2 separate regions of the Homo sapiens genome follow, and region 2 is linked to region 1. Evidence: promoter capture Hi-C in 16 types of primary human blood cells and fetal thymus (Javierre and others, 2016). All regions are on one chromosome and are shown on one strand. Each heading gives the region's core, a stretch centred on a gene start or on the middle of the fragment in contact. The rest is flanking DNA. Distances are from core to core; before and after follow the strand shown.

Region 1 (4,495 bases), core at 1,064-3,563:
TGGGGGCCTGAGAGACCCTCACCTTCCTTCTGCCCATCTTCCATGTTGTAAAGGAACAGCCCCAGTGCACTGGGGGAGGGGAGGGAGTGAGGGGCAGTGGTGCCCTTCCTGCAGAAGAGACATGCAGCAGTAGCGCTGGCGCCATCTGCAGGAGCTGGCGGGCTGGCCTTCTGGACCCTGGCTTCTCCCCACTGTAACGCCTGTTACACACAAACTGTTGTGGGTTCCTGCCAGGCTTGAAGAAAATGATCTGAATTTTTTCCTCCTTTTGGTTTTATTTTGTTGGTTTATTTTGTGTTTTCTTTTCTCCTTTTTGGGGGGTATTCAGAGTGGGCTGGGCCCCTGGGCGAGACACAGCTACCTCTGTTGGCATCTTTTTAATACCAGGAACCCAGCGGCTCTAGCCACTGAGCGGCTAAATGAAATAAAGTGGAAAAAAAAAAAAAGGAAAAAACCAAAAGCATAAAAAACCACAGCAAATTTCTTGATGAAAATTGAAAATAAAAGTTTCCTTGTATTTTAGTGCTCTGGTTCAGTGTGGGTGTAGGTGCAGGTGGATGAGTGTGTGCGGCAGGAGCCTGGCACCTGTATAGTTGAAAATTAAGGGCTACGTGGTGTCCTGATACCCCACTGAGTAACTGGGTTCTGTGTGTGGGTGCAGTATGTGCCTTGCCAACGTTGACTTCCACCTGTGGAAAATGAGAGGCTGCAAAACTGCGGGCACCGCCGCTTAATGGCTCTGTGACCTTGAGCAAGTTGTTTAACTTTGGTGGGATGCAGATATCTCATGTATACCTCATACGGTTGTCAAGTTAAACCAGTGAAGTACATGGAACGGTTTTAACACCTAACCACTACCTTAATGTTAGTTTCTAGGAAGGCTGAGGGGGGTTTTCTTGCTAAGTTGTGCAAAATTGGGATGCAATTTGTGGAAGAACACAGCCTCAATCCCACACCCCCGGAGGCCCGACCTAACGTCCTCCAACCTTGAAACCCTTGTAGTTCACCCCTTCTCATGTCCCAGACCAGGTCAGCCTTGCAACCCGTTGTTTCCCAACTAATTGTAGACCCACCTGAAAGCGAGTTCCGGCGAAGAGGCCCCCTGCGAATGAGGTGCAGTGCAGCACCTTAATTGAGGGGCTGAGCAGGGGTCAGCATCAAGGAAGGTGCTGGGAGGGCGGGGCACGGTGGCTCACAGCCTGTAATCTCAGCACAAAGGTGGGGGCAGGAGGATCGCTTAAGCCCAGGAGTTCTAGACCAGCCCTGGCAATATAGTGAGACGCCACCCCCTACAACCCGTCTCTATAAAAAGATTTTTAAAAAAGGGGCAAAGAGGAGGAGGTAAGTGGCATGGAATTCCACGGTTTTTTTTGTTTGTTTGTTTTGAGATGGAGTCTCGCTTTGTTGCCAGGCTGGAGTACAGTGGCGCGATCTCAGCTCACTGCAACCTCCCCCTCCCGGGTTCAAGCGATTCTCCTGCCTCAGCCTCCCGAGTAGCTGGGACTACACGCGTGCGCCAGCCACCATGCCCAACTAATTTTTGTATTTTTAATAGAGACAAGGTTGGCCAAGATGGTCTCGGATTTCTTGACCTCGTGATCCGCCCGCCTCGACCTCCCAAAGTGCTGGGATTACAGGCGTGAGCCACCGAGCCCGGCTGGTTTTTTTGTTTTTTTTTTTTGAGGTGGAGTTTCGCTCTTGGTGAGGCTTAAGTGGCACGATCTCGGCTTACTGCAACCTCCGCCTCCCGGGCTCAAGCAATTCTGCCTCAGCCTCTCGAGTAGCTGGGATTATAGGCGCCCGCCACCACGCCCGGCTAATTTTGTATTTTTAGTAGAAGCAGGGTTTCACCATATTGGCCAGGCTGGTCTCGAACTCCTGACCTCAAGTGATCCACCCACCTCAGCCTCCCAAAGTGCTGGGATTACAGGCGTGAGCCACTGCGCCCAGCCTGGAATTCCGTGATCTTGACGCTGGACTAGGGCAGTGGATGCGAGGGAGAGGGCTCCAATGTCGGGCCCTGGTTCGAGGAGAAGGTGCGGCTTTCACCCAACAGAAACCGGCCGTGAGGCTAAAAGCCAACTCCATGAGGGAAGGTCGGTCAAGCTCAATGGTTTCGTCACATTGCTCCCTCCACCCGCCGCGGGTGTAAGCTGCGCGTCTCCTTCGAATTGCCCCCTACTCGCCGCCGCCGGCTCCGCTGGCGTTCCCAGGGCGAGCGTAAGTTCCGGGTGCGGCGGCCGACTAGGCGCAACAGGAAGAGGCGGGGCCGCGAGGCTAGCGCTACCCGTGCGCCTGCGTGGAACGATTCTGTGGCGAGTGCCGGCCGAAAGCTAGGTCCGGATTGCACGTGGAGGGCCGCCCGAAGGGCACTCTCGGACATTAACCCGCATTCTGGTGGGTCTAGAGGAAATTGGGGGACGAAGAGTGGCAGCACTGACCTGGTCTGGGACGTGGGGAGAAGGGTGCGCTACCTGGGTTTCAGGTGGGAGGGCGTTCGGTCGGGCCTCCAGGGGGATAGCGGGGGTGCTTGAGTCGCGGGTGCTGAGTCGGGAGTGCTGAGTGAGTTGCGGGTGCTGAGTTGAGGCTGTGCCCTTTCCCACTATAATACGCCAAGCGTGCGTTCTGCCGTTCCCTCCGACACGCGCGACGCCACCTTCTCCCATTTCTGCCTGCCACAGTACCATGGGGCGCAAGTTGGACCCTACGAAGGAGAAGCGGGGGCCAGGCCGAAAGGCCCGGAAGCAGAAGGGTGCCGAGACAGAACTCGTCAGATTCTTGCCTGCAGGTAAGGATTAGTTGTGGCCTCCTGATCCCTCAGCTTTTGCAGTATTCTGTATTATAACCTCTTCTCTTTTTTAGTTTCTGTTCATTTTATATTTAAGTGGAATCTTCTCTGTATGAGTTACTAGGAGGTATGAATGAAACAGCCGTTTAGATTGTAGGGAACTGTTTAGGTCGTAGAGATGTGAAGACACGGACACAACTATTATTCATGCAAGGGAAAAGTGTGATTTAAAACAATTGTGAGTTCAGAGGAAGGGGGAGCCCATGCAGAACTGTAAAAGTTTTTGTTAAGCTGGGTTTTGAAAAATGGGTAACATTGTAGCAAGAGGAAGTAGTGAAGGGGAGGGGTCAGTCACTGATTTGCCTTTTGGAAGGGGTGGAAATGGAAAAGCACGGATCTGGCTGCTTCATGCCGAGTAGTAGTATACTGTGTGGAAGACTGGTGGGAGGTAACACTGGACCGGGAGTTTGTGTTGGGCATTGGATAAAGGATGCAGTTTATTGAGATAGTAGGAAGTCCTGGGCACTGTATTAAACTTGTTGGTCATGTTATATCGCTTAATCATCTTAGAGTCCTGTGAGAGAGGCACTATTAAGGAAACACTTTGGGAGGCCGAGGCAGGTGGATCACCTGAGGTCCAGTGTTCGAGACCAGCCTGGCCAACATGGTGAAACCCTGTCTTTACTAAAAATACAACAATTAGCTGGGTGTGGTGATGGGAGGCTGAGGCAATAGAATCGCTTGAATCTGGGAGAAGGAGGTTGCAGTGAGTTGAGATCACGCCATTGCACTCCAGCCTGGAAGACAAGAGTGAAACTCCATTTCAAAAAAAAAAAAGAAACTTGTATACAGTTATTAAATAATAACAGGGCTGAGATTTAAATGGACTCCTTTTAATTAGTGTACTAATTCTCTTACCATGTTTATTTCCGTTCCCATTTATTTTTAATGTCCCCTGTAACTTGTTCTGCCTCGTTTTTCTTTTTTAAACAGTAAGTGACGAAAATTCCAAGAGGCTGTCTAGTCGTGCTCGAAAGAGGTAAGTGTGGGTGTCAAAACTTAAGTAGGTTAAATTGGTACTGCTCATCTTTGACCACAGAGTTAATTCTAGACTCTCACATTTCCCTATGGTGGAAATGGCAGAGCCTGGAAGTATCTTCCCATTTCTTCACTCCTTGAATCTCTTGTGTCTTTTCAGGGCAGCCAAGAGGAGATTGGGCTCTGTTGAAGCCCCTAAGACAAATAAGTCTCCTGAGGCCAAACCATTGCCTGGAAAGCTACCAAAAGGTCCGTGAAACTAAGAGCTGGATGCTACATGAGGAGTCCCTTTGGGTCCTGGGTAGGGAAGAACTCGCTAAACATTTCCGGAGTGAAAGGAACAGCCAAAGGACATTCTGAGGGGTAGAAAGTACAGGCTCCCAGGGTGTGGGGCCAGGGAATGTGTGGCTGCCATTAGTCCAGGACTCTTCAAACCCTTAGGGATCTCTGCAGGAGCTGTCCAGACAGCTGGTAAGAAGGGACCCCAGTCCCTATTTAATGCTCCTCGAGGCAAGAAGCGCCCAGCACCTGGCAGTGATGAGGAAGAGGAGGAGGAAGACTCTGAAGAAGATGGTATGGTGAACCACGGGGACCTCTGGGGCTCCGAGGACGATGCTGATACGGTAGATGACTATGGAGCTGACTCCAACTCTGAGGATGAGGAGGAAG
Region 2 (4,495 bases), core at 611-3,110, 1.1 Mb before region 1:
ATCTTCAGATGGCTCCTCTGGAAGTTGCTTTTCTAATTTTGGGGAATTATTTTCAGTGAGCGTGCCTGATATGATTCCTAAAAGAGCTGGGTTGATCTTACACTGCTTGCAAAGTTTCAGTAAAAATACCATGCCCTTGTGCAAAATAAAATGAGTTGCTCTTCTCTTTAATGTCCTGAGGCTAAGAAAGTTTCAGTGTTTCAGAGTGCACGCCAGAGGGGCACAAACTGAAGATAATCTGTTACCCATCTAGAAAGAAAAGCAATAAAAGTGTCCTTTTAATCTACTTTGATTCCCTATGACCCCCGACGGAGAATAACACAGTGGAGTGTCCTGTTTTCCTTCCCTGGTTCCTGGGACCCTGTTAAATGTGCCACCCACGATTGTAAGCATGGTCCCCCAAGCCATGGGAGCGGATGAACTAAGTGATGGTGTGTCCGGAATGGGTGGGTTCTTGGTCTCACTGACTTCAAAAATGAAGCCGCAGACCCTCACGGTGAGTGTTACAGCTCTTAAGGTGGCGCGTCTGGAGTTTGTTCCTTTTGATGTGCAGGTGTGTTCAGTTTTTTCTTTCTGGTGGGTTCATGGTCTGGCGGGCTCAGGAGTAAAGCTGCAGACCTTTGCGGTCACTGTTACAGCTCTTAAGGCAGCGCGTCGGGAGTTGTTCGTTCCTCCCGGTAGGCTCGTGGTCTCGCAAGCTTTCGTGGTGAGTGCTGTAATTCACAAAAGTAGTATGGACCCCAAGAGCGAAAGAACAAAGCCCCACCAAGGCAGAGAGACACCCGAGCGGGTTACTACTACCAACTCGGGCAGCCTGCTTTTATTCTCTTATCTGGCCCCCCCCCAACCACATCCTGCTGATTGGTAGAGGCGAGTGGTCTGTTTTGACAGGGCGCTGATTGGTGCGTTTACAATCCCTGAGCTAGGTACAAAGGTTCTCCTCCTCCCCATCAGATTAGTTAGATACAGAGTATCCACACAAAGGTTCTCCAAGGCCCCACCAGAGCAGCTAGATACAGAGTGTCGATTGGCGCGCTCACAACCCTGAGCTAGACACAGGGTGCTGATTGGTGTGTTTACAAACCTTGAGCTAGATACAGAGTGTCCATTGGTGTATTTGCAATCCCTGAGCTAAACATAAATTCTCCACGTCCTCACCAGACTCAGGAGCCCAGCTGGCTTCACCCAGTGGATCCCGCACCGGCGCTGCAGTCCCACGCCATGCGCTTGCACTCCTCAGCCCTTGGGCGGTCGATGGGACTGGGCGCCGTGGAGCAGGGGGCGGCGCTCGTCGGGGAGGCTCCGGCTGCACAGGAACCCACGGAGGCGGGGGAAGGCTCAGGCATGGCGGGCTGCAGTCCCAAGGCCTGCCCCGCGGGAAGGCAGCTAAGGCCCGGTGAGAAATCGAGCGCAGCGCCGGTGGGCTGGCACTGCTGGGGGACCCAGTACACCCTCCGCAGCCGCTGGCCCGGGTGCTAAGCCCCTCACTGCCCCGGGCCGGCAGGGCCGGCCGGCTGCTCCGAGTGCGGGGCCGCCAAGCCCACGCCCCCCCGGAACTCCAGCTGGCCCGCAAGCGCCGCGCGCAGCCCCGGTTCCCGCTCGCGCGTCTCCCTCCACACCTCCCTGCAAGCTGAGGGAGCGGGCTGCGGCCTTCGCCAGCCCAGAAAGGGGCTCCCACAGTGCAGCGGTGGGCTGAAGGGCTCCTCAAGTGCCGCCAAAGTGGGAGCCCAGGCAGAGGAGGCGCCGAGAGCGAGCGAGAGCTGTGAGGACTGCTAGCACGCTGTCACCTCTCAATGGGATTAACCACACTTTACCCACGCAACCTTAGCTTATCTGCCTTGTGTGATTCCCTTTGACTTCCTAAGCCTATGTGATCTACCTGGCTCCCTGAAAAATTGATCTTTGGAGAGACTGTGTTGTTTTTGGTCAAGGCTCCTTTAACAGAGGCAATGTGCTAGACTGCCTGCTATTATGGCCCATGCCAAACCATTTACCCTCAGAAAAATGGTTCTGGTTAACTTCTGAACTTAAAATCTCCCTACTAATTATACCATTTTAACAGGAAACAGATTAGATGTCTTAAAAGAGCGTAGGAACAGAATGGCCATTTTCCTGCTTATGGGACAATATCAAGACTAAAATGTGGCAGCAGACATATTACTTCTTTTTGAGACAGAGTCTCACTGTCACCCAGGCTGGAGTGCAGTGACGTAATCTCAGCTCACTGCAACCTCTGCTTCCCCGTTTTAAGCAATTCAATAGCCTCAGCCTCCTGAGCAGCTGGGACCGCAGGTGTGCACCACCACGCCCAGCTAATTTTTGTGTTTTTAGTAGAGACGGGGTTTCACCATATTGGCCAGGCTGGTCTCGAACTCCTGACCTCGTGATCCACCCGCTTTGGCCTCCCAAAGTGTTGGGATTACAGGCGTAAGCCACCATGCCCGGTCGAGGACATATTACTTCTAATTGCTGAAGGCAGAACTTTCCGGTTCACAGAAGTAGGTTAGAGCCTGATTTCTGGTGGTGCAAAAGGAAGTTCAGTGTTACCGTAAAAAATGTGGCCCCTGAAGAGGATTTCTACTTCCACTAGGTGGCGCTGTTGGCTTAGAAATACTATATGCTCACCAGCGCAGCCACAGAGAGCGGGCTTGTTGAGTTACTGCCTGCTGCGTTTGCCATCTTTCCTAGCAGACCTGTTTCACTGAACTGTAAAACTCCCTGCACTTTTCACAGAGAGAGAGTAAGAGACCGTGGATAGAGAAAGAAGGAAAATTTTGCAACAGGATAGTAAGAAGAGAGCCTTGAAATTGAAGGAGAGATTTGAGGTTGGGGCTCGCTCTATAGTCACCACTCCGATGAATGAATTCCCGGTCAATGCAACCAAAATGATAACTGCTCTGATGAATGGAAGAACAGCAGGGTCCTTGGTCTAACATCGTTTTAGATAAAGCGACATGGACACATGTAGAGTGGTTTTAAGGAGTGGAGAGTTTAATAAGCAAGAAAGAAGGAAGAAGCTTCCCAGTACAGGGACAGAGGGAGGGGGGCTCCCAGAGAGAAACCCCGTGTGTGGCAGAGTAGTTTGTTATAGCAGGAGGCTGGAGGAGGAGGTGTCTAATTTGCATAGGGCCCAGGAGATTGGTTTGACCAGGCGTGTCATTCACATAGCCCGTGAAAAACCTGGCACTCCTACCTTACTCCTTTAATATGCAAATGCAGGTCACCATGATATCCATGTTATCTGGAGGCAATCATGACACTTGGCACATGTAGTGATGAGGAGGAGAGGGTGGCACTCTTCCTGTTGGCCATGTTGGGTGGACCCAGTTTCTAATCGCCAGCATTTGCATATCAAAGCTTGCCGGCCTGGTTTTTCAAGCTGCCTTTCTGTTAGAAAAGAAATGGTTTGGGGGTTGCTTCTTATTACAGGAAAATTTCCACTGAGAACCTTTACCCTTTCTAGCGGCCTAAAAGTTATTTCTTAATAATTCCTGTATTATTTGGAGGTGTTTGGGTCATGTGGGTAGATCCCTCCTGAAGTAATGAGTTCTCACTGTTCGTTCACACAAGAGCTTGTTGTTTAAGAGTCTGGCATCTCGCTTGCTCCTACTCTCACCATGTGGCACACTGTCGCCCCTTTGCCTTCCACCATGATTGTAAGCTTCCTGAAGCCCTCATCAGAAGCAGATGCTGGCACTATGCTTCATGCACAGCCTGTAGAACTATGAGTCAACTTAACCCCTTTTCTTTATAGATTACCCAGCCTCAGGTATTCTTTTATAGTAATGCAAGCAGACTAACACAAAGCTCATTATATATTTACAGTAGAGATGGATGTTAATACATGAGCATATTTTATATGAGCCACTATAATTATTGCTATTCCTATAGGAGAAAAATTATTCAGCTGATTAGCAAACTTTCACAGAGAAAATATCTAATGGTCATTAGCTGTACTATGAACTTTAGGCTTTATTTTCTCATTCACAGTTGGAGGCTCAACAAAAATTGTATCAGCTAAATTATCATTTGATATCAACCTTCATGATAGATATTGTTGTAGTAAAGCAAAGTAAAATGAAAGTAAAGTCAAAGTAAAGCAAAGTAAAAGGCTAGAGAGTGTTGGAAGCAGTGAATCCTATTTTAGATGGACTTGCCAAGGATACTGGTAATTTTCTTTTTTTTTTGAGATGGAGTCTTTCTTTGTCATCCGGAGTGGAGTGCAGTGACTTGATCTTGGCTCACTGCAACCTCTGCCTCTGGGGTTCAAGCGATTCTCCTGCCTCAGCCTACTGAGTAGCTGGGATTATAGGCACGTGCCATCATGCCTGGCTAATTTTTGTATTTTTAGTAGAGACGGGGTTTCACCATATTGGCCAGGCTGGTCCCGCACGCCTGACCTTGTGATCTGCCCACCTCGGCCTCCCGAAGTGCTAGGATTACAGGCATGAGCCACTGCACCTGGGCGGATACTGGTAATAAAGTAAATGAGCAG

Evidence for each region. Contacts are between HindIII fragments. The CHiCAGO score rates a contact against its expected background, and 5 or more counts as called.
Region 2: a fragment that was not itself captured here is called in contact with the fragment with the promoter of NOP2 in region 1 in 1 of 17 cell types (activated CD4 T cells); the score reaches 6.3 in activated CD4 T cells.

The regions. Positions count from the first base shown.
Region 1 is chr12:6,566,109-6,570,603 of GRCh38, reverse strand. It overlaps NOP2 (NOP2 nucleolar protein), which reads left to right and starts at 2,313. Exons shown (of 16, transcript NM_001258308.2): 1 at 2,313-2,397; 2 at 2,682-2,788; 3 at 3,782-3,827; 4 at 3,987-4,075; 5 at 4,268-4,495. The coding sequence starts at 2,686. CHD4-AS1 (CHD4 antisense RNA 1) reads right to left here and starts at 2,233. Exons shown (of 3, transcript NR_199067.1): 1 at 1,074-2,233. CHD4 (chromodomain helicase DNA binding protein 4) reads left to right here. Exons shown (of 40, transcript NM_001273.5): 40 at 1-522. RefSeq lists enhancers at 7-301, 1,969-2,018, 1,842-2,463. The HindIII fragment of the contact is 18,468 bases long and covers 1-4,495 here.
Region 2 is chr12:7,636,956-7,641,450 of GRCh38, reverse strand. No RefSeq gene overlaps it. Among named protein-coding and RNA genes, the nearest start is that of APOBEC1, 27 kb to the left of the region's middle. RefSeq lists silencers at 1,319-1,418, 2,500-2,629 and an enhancer at 3,071-3,605. The HindIII fragment of the contact is 2,319 bases long and covers 701-3,019 here.